5 separate regions of the Homo sapiens genome follow, and all the other regions are linked to region 1. The links are contacts of gene promoters, found by promoter capture Hi-C in blood cells and fetal thymus (Javierre and others, 2016). All regions are on one chromosome and are shown on one strand. Each heading gives the region's core, a stretch centred on a gene start or on the middle of the fragment in contact. The rest is flanking DNA. Distances are from core to core; before and after follow the strand shown.

Region 1 (2,727 bases), core at 159-2,658:
GAAATTGTTTCTGGGGTTCAGACTGTAGAACCCACTGAGGCAGAAATGTGGGAACTTGGTAGGAAAACATAAAGATGACAGCATGTTGGATACTTCAAGAAGGTACAAGGTCCTTTCCACGGAAGTTTTGCTAAAAGTGGATCAGGAACAAGAGGTGAATTATGTAACTTTGCTTCAGAAGCCACATCTACCTGTAATCAGCCATCAGAGGCTGAGGAAGGTCAGATTATCTTGTGTCTTCCTTATCATCGCCATCACTATCAGCAGCAGCAGCAGCAGCAGCAGCAGCAGCAGCAGAGTTCTCTGTCACACTCTATTACTAAAGCTAAAGATTGCATGTGATTATAGATATTTATTATTCTGGTCATTGTCATGGTGATCTTTGCGGAAAGATATTAGAGGAAAACTCCCTCCTAGTCATATCTGGAGGCCAATGTCCTTAAACAGAAAACTGGGGTCATACCCTGTAAAACCTATCAGACCAAGTAATCCAGAGCTGGGATGGGGGCAGGATCTCTTTAGAGTAAGACTTGCCTTCCAAGCCACATAACTGTCATCTGGAGCTTGTCACTGCTGACAATTTTCCTCCTTGCTGCCAGCTTGCTCTGTATCACGCAGGGCTATCATCAGTAACTTAGCCCTAAGAGGGGTACAGGAAAGATTAAAAAAAGGAATGCTATATTTGTGGGGGAATCATTCTCTAAAAGTCTCCCTTGCCAGCAAATTTTAAGTGGTAGGAGCAGTGGTTGTCACCACAGCTGGCACTTTGGGTTTTGTGGTGTGAAGCAAAGGCTTTTTAACTGAGAGAGGACTGGTGCCCATTCCTGGTGGCAGCTCCTGCCACTGGAAGCCTGGTTGGCCAGAATGTGATGCTGTGATGGGGACTGCATCTGGATCCCAGCTGTCAGGACCTGGCTTCCAGATCTGAATTCTAGAGCAGAGGGAGGGAAGGCAGAACACCTACCAGCACACTAATGTTTCAAGTTTGGCCTAGAGCAAAGAGCCTGAGTTGCTGTTGGCCAAACGTTGGCCTGTGTTTGTCAGACTGGGCTGAAGACTTCCTCCCTGGTCTATCCTTCACCTCTTATGCCACAGTTTTGGGAAACACTGTGCTCAGCAAGCTGAACTGCTTCTTGGGTGTGCGACTAGGGTGCCAGCCAGGCCAGGGACGTCCAGGACTGGAAGAAATGCAGGGGCAGGACCACAGCACAGGCTGATCAGGAGGCTGCCCCACCAGGAGCTCTGCTGAAGGCTGCATCCTCTCTGCTGAGAGTCAACCACTGTGCTGACTCACCATCCTTGTGGTTGAGAACCCATCAGCAAATTGGTGGCTCTGATGAGCCCTGGAGCTGCAAAATATAGGCCGGGGTACCTCAGCCGGAAGGGACTTCAGTTAGTGACAGGTTTTCTGTTCTGATATGGAGCTACAAGGGGCCCAAGAGGACCTGGGCATTTCCCTCTCTAGTCCCCGGAGGAACCATGAAACCAGGCCAGGAAGCAAGGCTAAGGGCAGGAGCAGCATCTGTCTCCAGGCGTCTGTTTGGATGGCTGTAAGTCCCACCTTGCTCTGTTTTTTTCTGCTATGGCTGAACCTGGATCTAGCAGGGTTCTCAGTTTCTGCTATGGCTGAACCTGGATCTCAGTCCCCTGGTGAGCTTAGCTCCTGCCTCCCAGAGAACTGGAATGACCTTATTCAGACACCTCCAGCCTGTATAAGTCAGGGGCAAGGACTGGGGAGTCAAGAGGGTTAAGGGAGTGAGAGGTGAGAGTTACAATCTACATTGTATTTTATGTCAACAGCATCCCCTGGAGTACTGCAAAGCTCTAAGTCAGATATCCCAGTGGGGGGCATCACCCATCCTAGACTTTCTCCCCTGCCCCATGCCCCTTATACCAACATCAATTCAGCACATAGCACTGTACTTGGCCATTAAGATAGTAAATAAATGCCTGGTGAATAGTTTGATAGACAGAAAGATGCCCACTCCCCCAACCCAAAGATGTTTACATTCTCATTCCTAGAAACTGTAAATATGTTATCTTAATAGCAAACAGGATTTTGCAAGTGTGGTTAACATTAAGGATCTTGAGATAAAGAGATTATCCTGGATTATCCGAATGGGCCTAATCTAATCCTAAAAAGCAGACAGGCTTCCCTGGGTGCAGTCAGAGACAGAAATGCAGCTAGGGGAATTGGAGTCAAAGAGAGGGCCATGAGAGAAGGATTCCATGCCCTGTGGCTGGTTCTGAGAGGTAGGGACTCTATGTAAGGACAGAGCAAATGTCTTCTAGGAGTTCAGGGTGGCCCCAGTTAGCAACCAGCAAGGACCTCAGTCTTACAGTCCCACGGAACTGTCAAGACCAGAATGAGCAAAGATAGTGATGCACCCCCAGAGCTGCCACCAAGGAACGCTGTCCTGCCGAGACGTTGATTTTAGTCCTATGAGACCCATAGGACTTCTGGCCCATAGAACTAAATGATAGTGTGTGTTTTAAGCTGCTAAAGTTTTGGTAATTTATTATAGTAGCAACCGATAATAGAAATGGCTATAAAATGGAATGTATTTTGTAACTGAACATAATTTTCTTGCCTCTGGTGTCCCTAATTTCCTTGGTGGCTGGCAGTCATAGAGAAGTCCTTTTCCATGGTTAGCTGTGTGCCAGTGACGGGGAGGGCATCCTTACTCTGGTCTCAAGTGCTTCTTGGCACCCCTGGGTTTACTTTTT
Region 2 (2,727 bases), core at 171-2,670, 250 kb before region 1:
GGATTAATACAATGCAGTTGAAGAGTCAGTATTTATTTGCTACTTTGTTTCTTTCCTGTGAGACAGGCATGAACTAGCTGCTTCTAGTCAGACATCTTGAATCAGACCCCCCAGAATTTTATATAAATAGAATTGTACATTCTGTGCACTTTTTTGACTTGCATTTTTCACTCATTACAATTATTTTGGGATTTAACCATATTGTTATGTATATCATTGATTTATTTCTTTTATTGCTGAGCAGTATTCTACTATATGGAAATACCAGAATATGTTTACTCATTTCATACACATGTTGATGGTCATTTGGTTTATTTATAGTTTGGGTAAACATAATGCTATAAACATTAACATACAAGTATTTTGTCTGGATGTACGCTTGCCTTTCTCTTGGGTACATGGTATTGGAATGTAGAGTTATATAGTAGATATATGTTCAACATTTTAAGAAGCCATTATACTGTATTCCAAAGTATTGCATGATTTTACATTCCTACCAGTGGTATGTGAGAGTGTAGGTTGCTCCATGTCTTCCTCACACTTGGTATGGTCAGATTTTAAAATTTCAGCCATTGACCAGGTGTGGTTGCTCACACCTGTAATCCCAAGCACTCTGGGAGGCCAAGGCAGGCAGATCACTTGAGGTTAGGAGTTCGAAACCAGCCTGGCCAACATGGTGAAACCCCTTCTCTACTAAAATTGCAAAAATTAGCTGGGCATGCTGGTGCGTGCCTGTAATCCCAGCTGCCTGGGAGGCTGAGGTGGGAGAATCGCTTGAATCTGGGAGGCAGACGTTGCAGTGAGCCAGATGGCGCCACTGCACTCCAGCCTGTACAACAGAGTGAGACCCTGTCTCAAAAAAATAACAAAAAACAAAACAAAACAAAAGAAAAAATTCAGCCCCTATAAGTATATGGTGATATTTCATTGTGATTTAAGTTTGCATTTATGACAAATTGAACATAGTTGTATGTACTTATCTTTCATCCACATATCTTCTTTGGTGAGGTATCTGTTCAAATCTTTTGCTCATTTTTTAAAGTTGGGTTGTTTGTTTTCTTATTTTTGAGTTTTAGGATTTATTTATGGATTCTTGATACAAGTCTTTTATCAGATATGAGTTGCAAATATTTTCTCAGGCTTGTGGCTTGCTTTTCATTCACTTAATGGTGTCTTTTGGAGAGCAAAAGTTTTTAATTTTCATCAAGTGTAATTTATCAATTTTTTATCTTACAGATTTTGTATTTGGTATCTTGTTTCAGAAATCTTTGCCTAACCCAAGACTAACAGATTTTCTCCTATGTTTTCTTCTAGAAGTTTTCTTTTTGTTAACCATTATATTTAGTTTACTGACCCATTTTAAGTTAAATTTTGTATATGTCAAAGTTATGTATGGCTTCTTACTGGGGAGAAAAATCTTTTAAGGGGGTATTTTGGTAGAGAAAATGCAATGTCTTCATCAACCGTTTGTTTTTCCTTCTAGGCACACAGCCTAGACTATTTCCCAGCATCTCTGCAGTTAGGTTAGGGTAGTATGACTTAGTTTTAATTTGTGCAAGGTGGACAGAATTAATGTGCTTTCTTCTAGACCATACTGTACAACTCTTTGTATAATCCTCCACATTCTTCATATCCGTTTTCTATGCTAACTTTGGTTGCCATGTGTCCAAAGTAGCTGAGTCACAAAAAAGATGTTAGGTTCCTAAACTGCCACATGAAGGGCCATTGTTCTGATTATTTAATGCTGCACAATAAACCACACCAAAAGTTAGTGGCTCATACAACAGTCTTTTATTAGATCTTATGACTCTCTGAGTTGACTGGGCTCAGCTAGTGGCTCTTGCTTGAGATCTCTCTTGCAATTGAGGGCACTTGTTGGATAGTACAGATGGCTGCAGTCATCTGATGGCTCAACTGGGTGAGTGACCAAGAAGGTCCACTCACATGGATAGCAGATAATGCTGGCTATGTGCTGGAAACCCAACTGGGATGTCAACTGGAGGGCTTACACTTGGCTTCTCCATGTAGCATGAAATTCTCTTAGTCTGGTGGTTGGGTTCCAAGAGGAAGAGCCCCATACATGTGCATTCCAAGAGTCAAGAATTGGAAGCAGTTAAGACTATGCCTGGAGTGGCATAACATCATTTCCTGCATATTTTATTGATCAAAGTAGTGACAGGCCCTTCCTTTATTCAATGGGAATATAAACTGTATATCTTGATGGGGGAGTAGTAAAGTCACATTGTAAAAGAACATAACGTATTGATGGCATTGTCATGATCATCTTTAAAAATACAATATGCCATACTCTCCCACCAAACACTTGACTGTACTATGGCATAGGTGAGGTAAAAACTTACATTATCCTAACCCCATGAGATTTGAAGGTTTGTTACAGCACTTAGTTTATCCTGACTACCATACATAATAGTGCATCCACTGAGAGAACCACCCTCTTGCCTCCTGGATTATCAGTAATGCCTCCTCTCGGCTTGGATAAGGAAACAGTACTTTATTTTCACGATGAGGATACCAACATTTTAAGCAGAATACTTAGTCCTAGGTGTAATGAGGTACCTGCTATATTCACTCACAAGGACATTTGGTATACCAAGCTCCAGCTGCCAAGTTAAAGGTCTGGCTCAACTTCCACTGGGAAATAATCACCTTACAGGCAGTGTCATTTCACAAGCAGAACTTCCCACCTCCAGACTTCTGGTTGGTTCA
Region 3 (2,727 bases), core at 76-2,575, 230 kb before region 1:
TAGGTTTAGATTAAAATGATCTAATAGATTCTTTTCAACTTTAGCTTTTTTAAATTTGTAATTTGTGTCTGTGCTTTTTTCACCATATTTTTATTGTAATTAATATAAGGCTATTAGACTTTATGCTGTATTTGACTTTGTGATACCTGTGGTATTTATCTGAAAATTGGTAGATAATTTTACTGTAAAATGTTAAAACATAGGAAAAAAGCCAAATGTTAATTATATAGAGCAGGAATCAGCAAACCATTTCTTTAGAAGGCCATGTAGTCATCATTTTCGGTTACAAATACTTAGCTCTTCCATTGTAGTGTGGAAACAGCCGTAGCCAATTTGTAGATTAATACATTTAATGGCTGTGTTCCAATAACATTTTATTTACAAAAACAAGCAGCAGACCTTGACACAGAGTGTTGGAGGTTTTTTTGTTTGATTGGCTTATTTAGTTTTTAACTTGTATTTCTTCCTTTCTAGGTATAAAGGACCATTGTTAGAAGAGCAAGCCCTTACAAAGGCGGCAGAGGGTGGATTATCTTCACCTGAATTTTCAGAGCTCTGTATTTGGTTAGGCTCTCAAATAAAATCATTATGCAACTTGGAAGAAAGTATCACGTCTGCTGGTATTGCCATTATGTTGTATTTACTTTTCTGTTTAATAGTAAACTGATAACTTACGGTTTATAGTTTTATCAATAATGTGCCCACTGTACAAAGAAAAATCACATATTCCAAAGAATTTCAGTATGTGGTAGTAAACATTTTTGGATTAAATTTTATATTAATCCAGAATTGATATTTAAATTTGCTATAAAACTATAAGCAATTACTATTTATCTGCTATTTTTTTCTCTTCCTGACGGCTCTGATATCTGCTGTCTAAACCTTAGTATTGTTTTTTAGAAAAAGTAGGGTCTGAATTTGATTATTTAAAAGTTTAATTTTTGAATGGTGCTCATGTTGAATTAAGGCTTAAAATATTATATATATATAATTCCTAATTTGTGTTCTGAAGCTTGTAGCTCAGGATATGGATTCACATAGGAATACTTCTATTAAAAACTTCTGTACTAGCTCATAAAGCTTCTTTAGTTCATTACCATCTTAGTAACTGGAGTCCTGTGGGTCTTTGGTAGAATTTCGGATATTAATAGTATAATAAAAAGAAAAATTAAAAATTGTGCATTCACAAAAGTAGCTTTTTCTTTGAAAAGTATCCTTTTTTTCTTAAGAGATGGGGTCTTGTTATGTTGCACAGACTGGACTTGAACTCCTGGGCTCAAGCAACCCTCTCACCCCACCCTCCCAAGTAGTTGAAACTGCAGGTGTGGGCTACCGCACCCAGCCAGATCTAACAGTTCACTTGACGCAAAGTAAACTAATTTGAATTCTAAACATATAACACGACTGCCTACATAATTACATTATGAAATAAAGATAAGCAGTGAGGGTTAATTAGATGGTTGCATTTATTTTCTGAATATATAGAAATATAGTAGAAATGGATCATTTGCTCTGAAGTGAATTAATAATTATAGCCATAATAATGCTTTTACTATTTCAGTTGTTAACGTAAGCTTCGTGATCACACATTTAAGGATTTAATGTGAAAATTTAGAATTGAATGTAAAATGGAAATAAACGAGTAGATTTTATAGTATTGGATTATATGGTAAATGCTCAGTAAATGTTTTATGATTTTTCTTTTTTAAAGGAAGAGATGATCTAGAGAGCTTCCAGCTTGAGATAAGTGGCTTTTTAAAAGAAATGGCATGTCCATATTCTGTACTCATATCAGGAGATATTAAAGATCGTTTAAAAAAGAAGGAGGACTGTTTGAAACTTCTATGTAAGTTATCTTGAACATTTAAATGCATGTGTTTGACATGGTTTTTATTATTTTCAAGTCAAGATTTATTAATGAAGCATTAGACATTTTGTATATTAAAAGGGTTTTAATATTTTACTTAAAATACAAAGCTATCTCAGAAATGTTTATATAATATAGTATAAATTTTACCAGTATGCCTTCTAACACTTGTGATTTATTTGGCCAATATAGAATGTCCTGTGTTTGTGATTTATATAGTACTTTAGTAATTTTTCCTTTATCTCATTCTATCTGTTATTGTTCGTGACTATATGGCTAACATTGATGATCTCCAAAGTCCTATTTAATCTAAAAACTCTCTGAAACTAGGCACTGGATGATAATTTGTTGATCACTTACTCTAACACCAAGAACTGCTCTGGATACTAGGGATATATGAGGGTTGCTTGTTTTGTTTTTTTTTAAAAAATATAAAATTTGTGCCTTTAGGACACTTTAAATGTGGCCAGTTTCATCAGGGAGGGATTTGGAATATAGGTCATACTGTATTCAAACAATTACCATAAATAGTAGGTCCATGTTTGTGTTGGGTTCCTTTCATCATTTTTTTACTTTAGGCTAATTTTATAATGTTTTTAAAGTTCTACAAACAATGACTATTTGAAAGAATTTTTCTAATACCTTCTATTATTGAAGATTTCTATTTCAGATCATGCCATTTATAAAAAGATTACACGTGACATATTCCTCCTAGGCGCTAGTGTTTTAATAAAGTTTGTTTCATTAGAGATGAAATTTGTGTGTGTGTGTGTGTGTGTGTGTGTGTGTGTGTGTTTAGTGGTGACAAAAGTATTGGCATTGAAATTACCTTGTGTGTGTTGAGTGGGGATAAAAATTAT
Region 4 (2,727 bases), core at 111-2,610, 220 kb before region 1:
TTTTGTCTCTTAATGCTCTCGCTTCCCATGGCCAAATTGTTTTCCACTTAAGTTTATATGAATTTAAACTCCTTCCAGTAAGGTAAATGAAATGTTGTGTCACTTTAGCCTCTTTATTGCTAACTTGATGTTAAAAAGACTAACTTGTTTTGTCTGTTCTTATTATTGACAAAGTTGAACTGTTTTCATAAGCTTATTAGTCATTTGAATTTCCTCTTTTTAACTTCTATTTATGTCTTGTCATTTTTTTTTCCTGTAAAATTCTGTTTTCTTTTTGTGTTTGAGGTTTTTATATAGAAAGGAAGTTTGCTGGTTGAATTATTTGTTGAAAATATTTTCCCCAGTTGTCATTAGATGTTGTTTTATATCTTTTAAAGTACAGAAATTTTAATTTTTATAATGTAGTTGTTTTTAAATTGAAAATTAAACCTCAAACAGTTAACTTTTTGTTCTCTTTGGAATTCCCTTTGTTATATGGTGTGCTGTATTATTGTTATTATTACAGATAGCCACCAGGTCATTCCAGCACCATTTAAAAGATAATCCTTTCCTTTTCTCGTTGATCTGTGATGTCTCCTTTATCATTTATTGCATTCATAGATTTATGAGGCTCTGAGTCTCAATATACTATTTCATCAATCTATGTTTTTTTCTCCCAAGTTCTAGTTAATTAGATGGAGGTAGGATAGCAAACTGTTATCTATACTAGACCTGTGCTTGGGGGTCAGGTAGACCTTTGTTGCTAAGTGGGCAGAGCTAGGATTCTCTCTATATTTTGGGGAAACTAACTTAAGCTTTCTATGCCTCATTTTTTTTTTCCATCTGCAAAAGGGGATAATAAAAACCAACCACTCTAAAAGGATATTTTGAGGATTAAAGAAATAATGCCTTACTAAGTGAACAGCATCCTGGCACATTTAATAAGTTCTCATTAAATGTTAACTGATAAGATGATGATAATTTTGTATTATAGCATATTAGTATTTGGTAGGATTATATTTCAAAATGCTTTTAGTTATTCTTACATATTGAGTTTCTGGATTTAACTTTAGATTTTTTTTTCATTCTCTCAAAAACTATTTATATAGGATTATAAGTTAATTTGGGGGAAAACTGACAATAATACTTAATGTTCCCATACAGAAACTTGGTATTTCTTACCATTTATACAAGTTTTCCTTTTGTTTTTGCAAGATTTACTGATGTTTCCCTTTTAAATGTCCTGTATGTGGTTTTGGTAAAACTATTTTTTAGGTATTTTTTGTTAATATGTATAGAAATTTTTTTGTTATTATTTTTTAGCGAGTTGTTGCTGGTAGTTACATATTTTTAACACCTGTTGGTCTATTTTATTTGTTCTAAATTATTCATAAATTCTCAGATATTTGGGTGTTTTTGCTCTTTTCTAACTCCTTGCTTATGCATTATCTCCTTTTCTTTATTTCTAAAGATTATGATTGTTTTTGCTCTTTCATTAAAATGTACTTTTGTTCCTTTTTTCCTTAACTCTTGTCATTTAGGTAAAAACAGATGATATAGCAAGAATTTATCAGCCTAAGCGTTATGCTTTGTCACCCAAGACAACGATTACAATGGCACATCTACTTGCTGCTCGTGAAGATCTATCCAAGATCATTAGGACAAGTAGTGGCACCAGCCGGGAGAAGACCGCATGTGCCATTAATAAGGTTGGTGTTTCTTTCAGTACAGTGGAAAATGAATTGATGATATCTTACTTAATGTTTTTACAGATTTTAGTCTATTTTTCTTTCATGTCCTGGTAAATGTTTAGAAAAAAGAGTGGCAGGGGGGTTCAGTCTAGGCTTAGTTATGTTATTTTTGTGTATGTGTGTATGTTCACTTGAATTTGTGTATTCATAAATCAAAGTATTTTCTGAATTAGAGGAATTATGAATTGTTTTTGTCAAAGCTTTAGCAAGAATTATGTTCCATCTTTCTAAAAAGTAATCATTTTTTGTCAGTAAGAATCTTTCGGAATTGTTTCAAGTACTGACAGATTCGTTATATCCTTGGTGTAAAGGGAAGAAGAGTTTGTGCTTTAGAGTCAGACCAATCTGGGTTCCCATCCTGGCTCTGTCATTTACTTACAGAAATGACCCTGAGCAAGCTACTGAACTTCTTTGAGCTTCTGTTTCCTGATTTGGAGTATACATCCATTTCTCTGACAGTAGTCTATTTAAACAAGCTCAAGGAGTCTGAATTTTTCACTTTACAACAGCAATAACAATAAAGTAATTTAGTATGTTTATGTCAGCTTAACTGGCATGTCCTCTTCATTTAGGTAGAGCACTCCATGGCAAACTTTATTACAAAAGAGCAAAAAATCAGAAATAAGGGATTTGGATAATTTTAAAGCATCGCTTCTCACTCAGTGTAACTTGAGATAAAATACCTTTTCAGAGGGATGGTTGTTTTTAAAGTCATTTTGCTAACTATTGCTAAGTTAGGCATCACCAGTGTTTGCCTCTGTGCTTCCACTGTGGCTCAATCCTATGTTCTGAAAGTGTTCTCTCTTTAAATATATTACCTAACATCTTGCATTGGGTGATAATTTAGTCTTGCTGGATCAAGAGTTCTATTTCTGTAAGTAACATTGGCCATCTCTTCTGAGTTTATAATTTATGGTCTCATTATTTGAGGGTAGTCTTATGATCAGTTCTGGCATCTCCATATGCCCACCAACATACCATGTTTGGTAGAGAGACC
Region 5 (2,727 bases), core at 102-2,601, 170 kb before region 1:
GAGATTGGAGATAGTGAGTGTAGACTATTTTAAGACGCTTTCACATCAAATTTTTAACCCTAACAATGGAATGAAGGGGAGGTAGGGTTAAGAGTTGATTTTTAGATGAGGAGACTTGAATGTGTTTTAGGCTGAGGGGCAGGTGCCATTGAAGAGGTAGAGTTTAAAAGTATAGGAGGGGTGATAGCTGGTGGAGTAAGATTCTGTGAGAAGTACGAGGGACCATGGGAAAGGGAGGGGGGGTCTGCCCCAATATGTAGGCAGCCAGTAGTGCACTAAGGGCAGGAACCCCGAGGTACAATTTTCTTTCTTTTTTTTTTTTTTTGAGACAGAGTCTCACTTCATTGCCCAGGCTGGAGTGCAGTGGTGTGATCTCAGCTCACTGCAACCTCCACTTCCCAGGTTCAAGTGATTCTCCTGCCTCAGCCTCATGAGTAGCTGGAATTACAGGCATATGTCACCATGCCCGGCTAATTTTCATATTTTTAGTAGAGATGGGGTTTCACCATGTTGGCCAGGCTGGTCTCAAACTCCTGACCTTAAGTGATCTGCCCACTTTGGCCTTCCAAAGTGCTGGGATTACAGATGTGAGCTACTGTGCCCAGACACCCCAGGAACAATTTAGTCCCTAGGCCAACAAATAAGTTTTTAGGGAGGAATATTTAATCACTGACATTGTTTATAATCACTGGTACATGAAATTAATAAAAAGTAGACACTGAGTTGGTTTCATGATGGTTTAAAATTCTCTGCAGAAGAGGCACCCACTTATTACCTGCACCTCTTATTTATGTGCACTTCTCGCAATGCTCCCCCACTTTGTGTGCTACTGGAAAACACCTCCTTTGAGATGAGAGGTAAAGACTCATGAGTAGGTATAGAGAAGGGATTCAGTCCTGATGGTTTTTATTTTTTCTGTGTGCTGTAAGATGAAACGCGGGGAATTAGGAGAGTGGAAAAGTGTTAGAGCAGCTACAAGTCATGACACAGTACCAGGGACCTGCGCCTTGGGTGCTAAACGGTCTCACTCCGCCTACAACTCTTCTTTTGTGGGGGCTGCTGCTTACAGTGTCATCAGTGAGAAAAAGCAAGCAGGAGCTTTCTCCTCCCTACTTGATTCATATCCCGTAATAAGGTTAAAGTCCAGCAGGTTTTGCTTGGCACATAGTCAGTCCTCCTGCCTGAAGCAATAAGGCACCAGCAGATTCTCCAGATGCTGTGGCACTGGGAATCTTTCTTCAGAACCTGGAGAAAGTTGAAGAATTGGACAGGAAGGCCAGAAAGAAATTTATCCTTGAGTCATGCTTGCACCTTTGTCAATTTGCACAGGATGAATATCTATTTTGCACACTCTACAGAAAAAATATTTTTTACTATTAAGAGCCTGAAGATTGTGCTTGCATATTGATTTCTTTGACCACCCCCCAGAGCAATCAGCATCAATAACATTGCCCCACCCAACAGAGGATACATGAACACACCCCCAACACATGCACCCATACCCCTGAAAGGACATATGAACCTATTTGCCACTCAGGGTTATTCCAAACCAATAAAAATAAAAGCATACTTCAAATTTCAAGCTACTTTTTGGGTGGATCCCATTTTGGGATTGCCAGTCACTATGTTAAAGGATATAGGGTGATAACTTTTTGGAGCAGTTCTGCAGAGGAGATGACAATTCGGTGCATGGTCAGCATGACTTGCAACAGTTGGTTACTTCGACACAGGTTTCCATCTGCATCTGAAAATATAAAGAGCAGCACCTGAGTTAGGCCCTGGAGGGAAACTAGTCACCTGGTAGACACCTGCAAACCCTCTGTGACTCAGGTGCAATCCTTCAGGCACAGTGATTTTCTTCCACTGCCCCTAGCACAGCCCCCCTCTGTTTTTCTCATCCTCCTGCTACATTCTTCCCTTGCAGAATGTCCATTTTGATGCTCATTAACTACCCCTTTTCCTCTCCACAGTGGTAAAATCGGGAAAGGGATAAAATCTGCATCAGCACACTTGAGTCTCACTGAAAGCAGAAGCAGATCCAGGTTTTGTGGGGCCTAAAGTTCATATAACTGGTTGGGGGGTGGGCAGGGAGAGAATTCTCTGGGGTCAGAGTGAGAAAAGTTGGTTTTTAATAGATTGCAGTTAAAATATCTTACCTTTACAAATTTTACAAAAACAAATGACCATATGAATACATTTCTAGGGCCGTCCCATGGCCTTGGAAGGGGCTCATGCAAGTGAGGAGCCCTGAAATATATGCTTCTCCAGTTTTATGGTTAATATGCCTCTGGATGGAAATAAAAGAAGACTATGGGCAAACATTACATTTTAAGATTGCAAGTGGATTACAAGTACTCATGATGATTTGTATTAAAGAACATGGTTAGCTAGGTTTTCTAAATCCCAGCTGGCACAAAATAATAAGATGCATTTATACACTGGCATTGGGTAAAAAGATTCCCCTTGGAGTGGTTTTCAAAATCTTTTCAACATTTATGGCATGAAGTGTTAGGAGCTCTGCTGGTTATTCTCTGCCAGATCTATTCTTTCACCATGAAAAATATCAGCCCACTCACTTGCCAGCTGGCTTCCAGTTGGGTTTAGCCATTGGGAAGCACCAGCAAGAGACTGGGAGTGGAGGGAAGTCAGGATATTTGTTTTTCATTCCCTCTCTGCATTGACACCACTCCCCTGACAGTGACTACATATCTTTTCAATGAATGATCA

Evidence for each region. The method cuts DNA at HindIII sites, captures the fragments that hold promoters and counts their contacts. A CHiCAGO score of 5 or more calls a contact.
Region 2: a contact is called between a fragment that was not itself captured here and the fragment with the promoter of LINC02694 in region 1, in 13 of 17 cell types (activated CD4 T cells, naive B cells, total B cells and 10 more). The highest score is 24.1, in activated CD4 T cells.
Region 3: a contact is called between a fragment that was not itself captured here and the fragment with the promoter of LINC02694 in region 1, in 16 of 17 cell types (activated CD4 T cells, non-activated CD4 T cells, naive CD8 T cells and 13 more). The highest score is 75.8, in activated CD4 T cells.
Region 4: a contact is called between a fragment that was not itself captured here and the fragment with the promoter of LINC02694 in region 1, in 16 of 17 cell types (naive CD8 T cells, total CD4 T cells, naive B cells and 13 more). The highest score is 48.2, in naive CD8 T cells.
Region 5: a fragment that was not itself captured here is called in contact with the fragment with the promoter of LINC02694 in region 1 in 9 of 17 cell types (activated CD4 T cells, naive CD4 T cells, total CD8 T cells and 6 more); the score reaches 34.0 in activated CD4 T cells.

What each region holds. Positions count from the first base shown.
Region 1 is chr15:38,695,190-38,697,916 of GRCh38, forward strand. LINC02694 (long intergenic non-protein coding RNA 2694) reads left to right here and starts at 1,409. Exons shown (of 2, transcript NR_160786.1): 1 at 1,409-1,550. RefSeq lists an enhancer at 1,519-1,568. The HindIII fragment of the contact is 8,690 bases long and covers 1-2,727 here.
Region 2 is chr15:38,443,091-38,445,817 of GRCh38, forward strand. No RefSeq gene overlaps it. Among named protein-coding and RNA genes, the nearest start is that of FAM98B, 9.7 kb to the right of the region's middle. The HindIII fragment of the contact is 5,806 bases long and covers 1-2,727 here.
Region 3 is chr15:38,463,558-38,466,284 of GRCh38, forward strand. FAM98B (family with sequence similarity 98 member B) reads left to right here. Exons shown (of 8, transcript NM_173611.4): 2 at 475-620; 3 at 1,712-1,846. Among named protein-coding and RNA genes, the nearest start is that of FAM98B, 11 kb to the left of the region's middle. The HindIII fragment of the contact is 494 bases long and covers 1,079-1,572 here.
Region 4 is chr15:38,479,772-38,482,498 of GRCh38, forward strand. FAM98B (family with sequence similarity 98 member B) reads left to right here. Exons shown (of 8, transcript NM_173611.4): 7 at 1,521-1,688. Among named protein-coding and RNA genes, the nearest start is that of FAM98B, 27 kb to the left of the region's middle. The HindIII fragment of the contact is 1,136 bases long and covers 793-1,928 here.
Region 5 is chr15:38,524,661-38,527,387 of GRCh38, forward strand. RASGRP1 (RAS guanyl releasing protein 1) reads right to left here. Exons shown (of 17, transcript NM_005739.4): 3 at 1,639-1,744. Among named protein-coding and RNA genes, the nearest start is that of RASGRP1, 39 kb to the right of the region's middle. The HindIII fragment of the contact is 5,208 bases long and covers 1-2,727 here.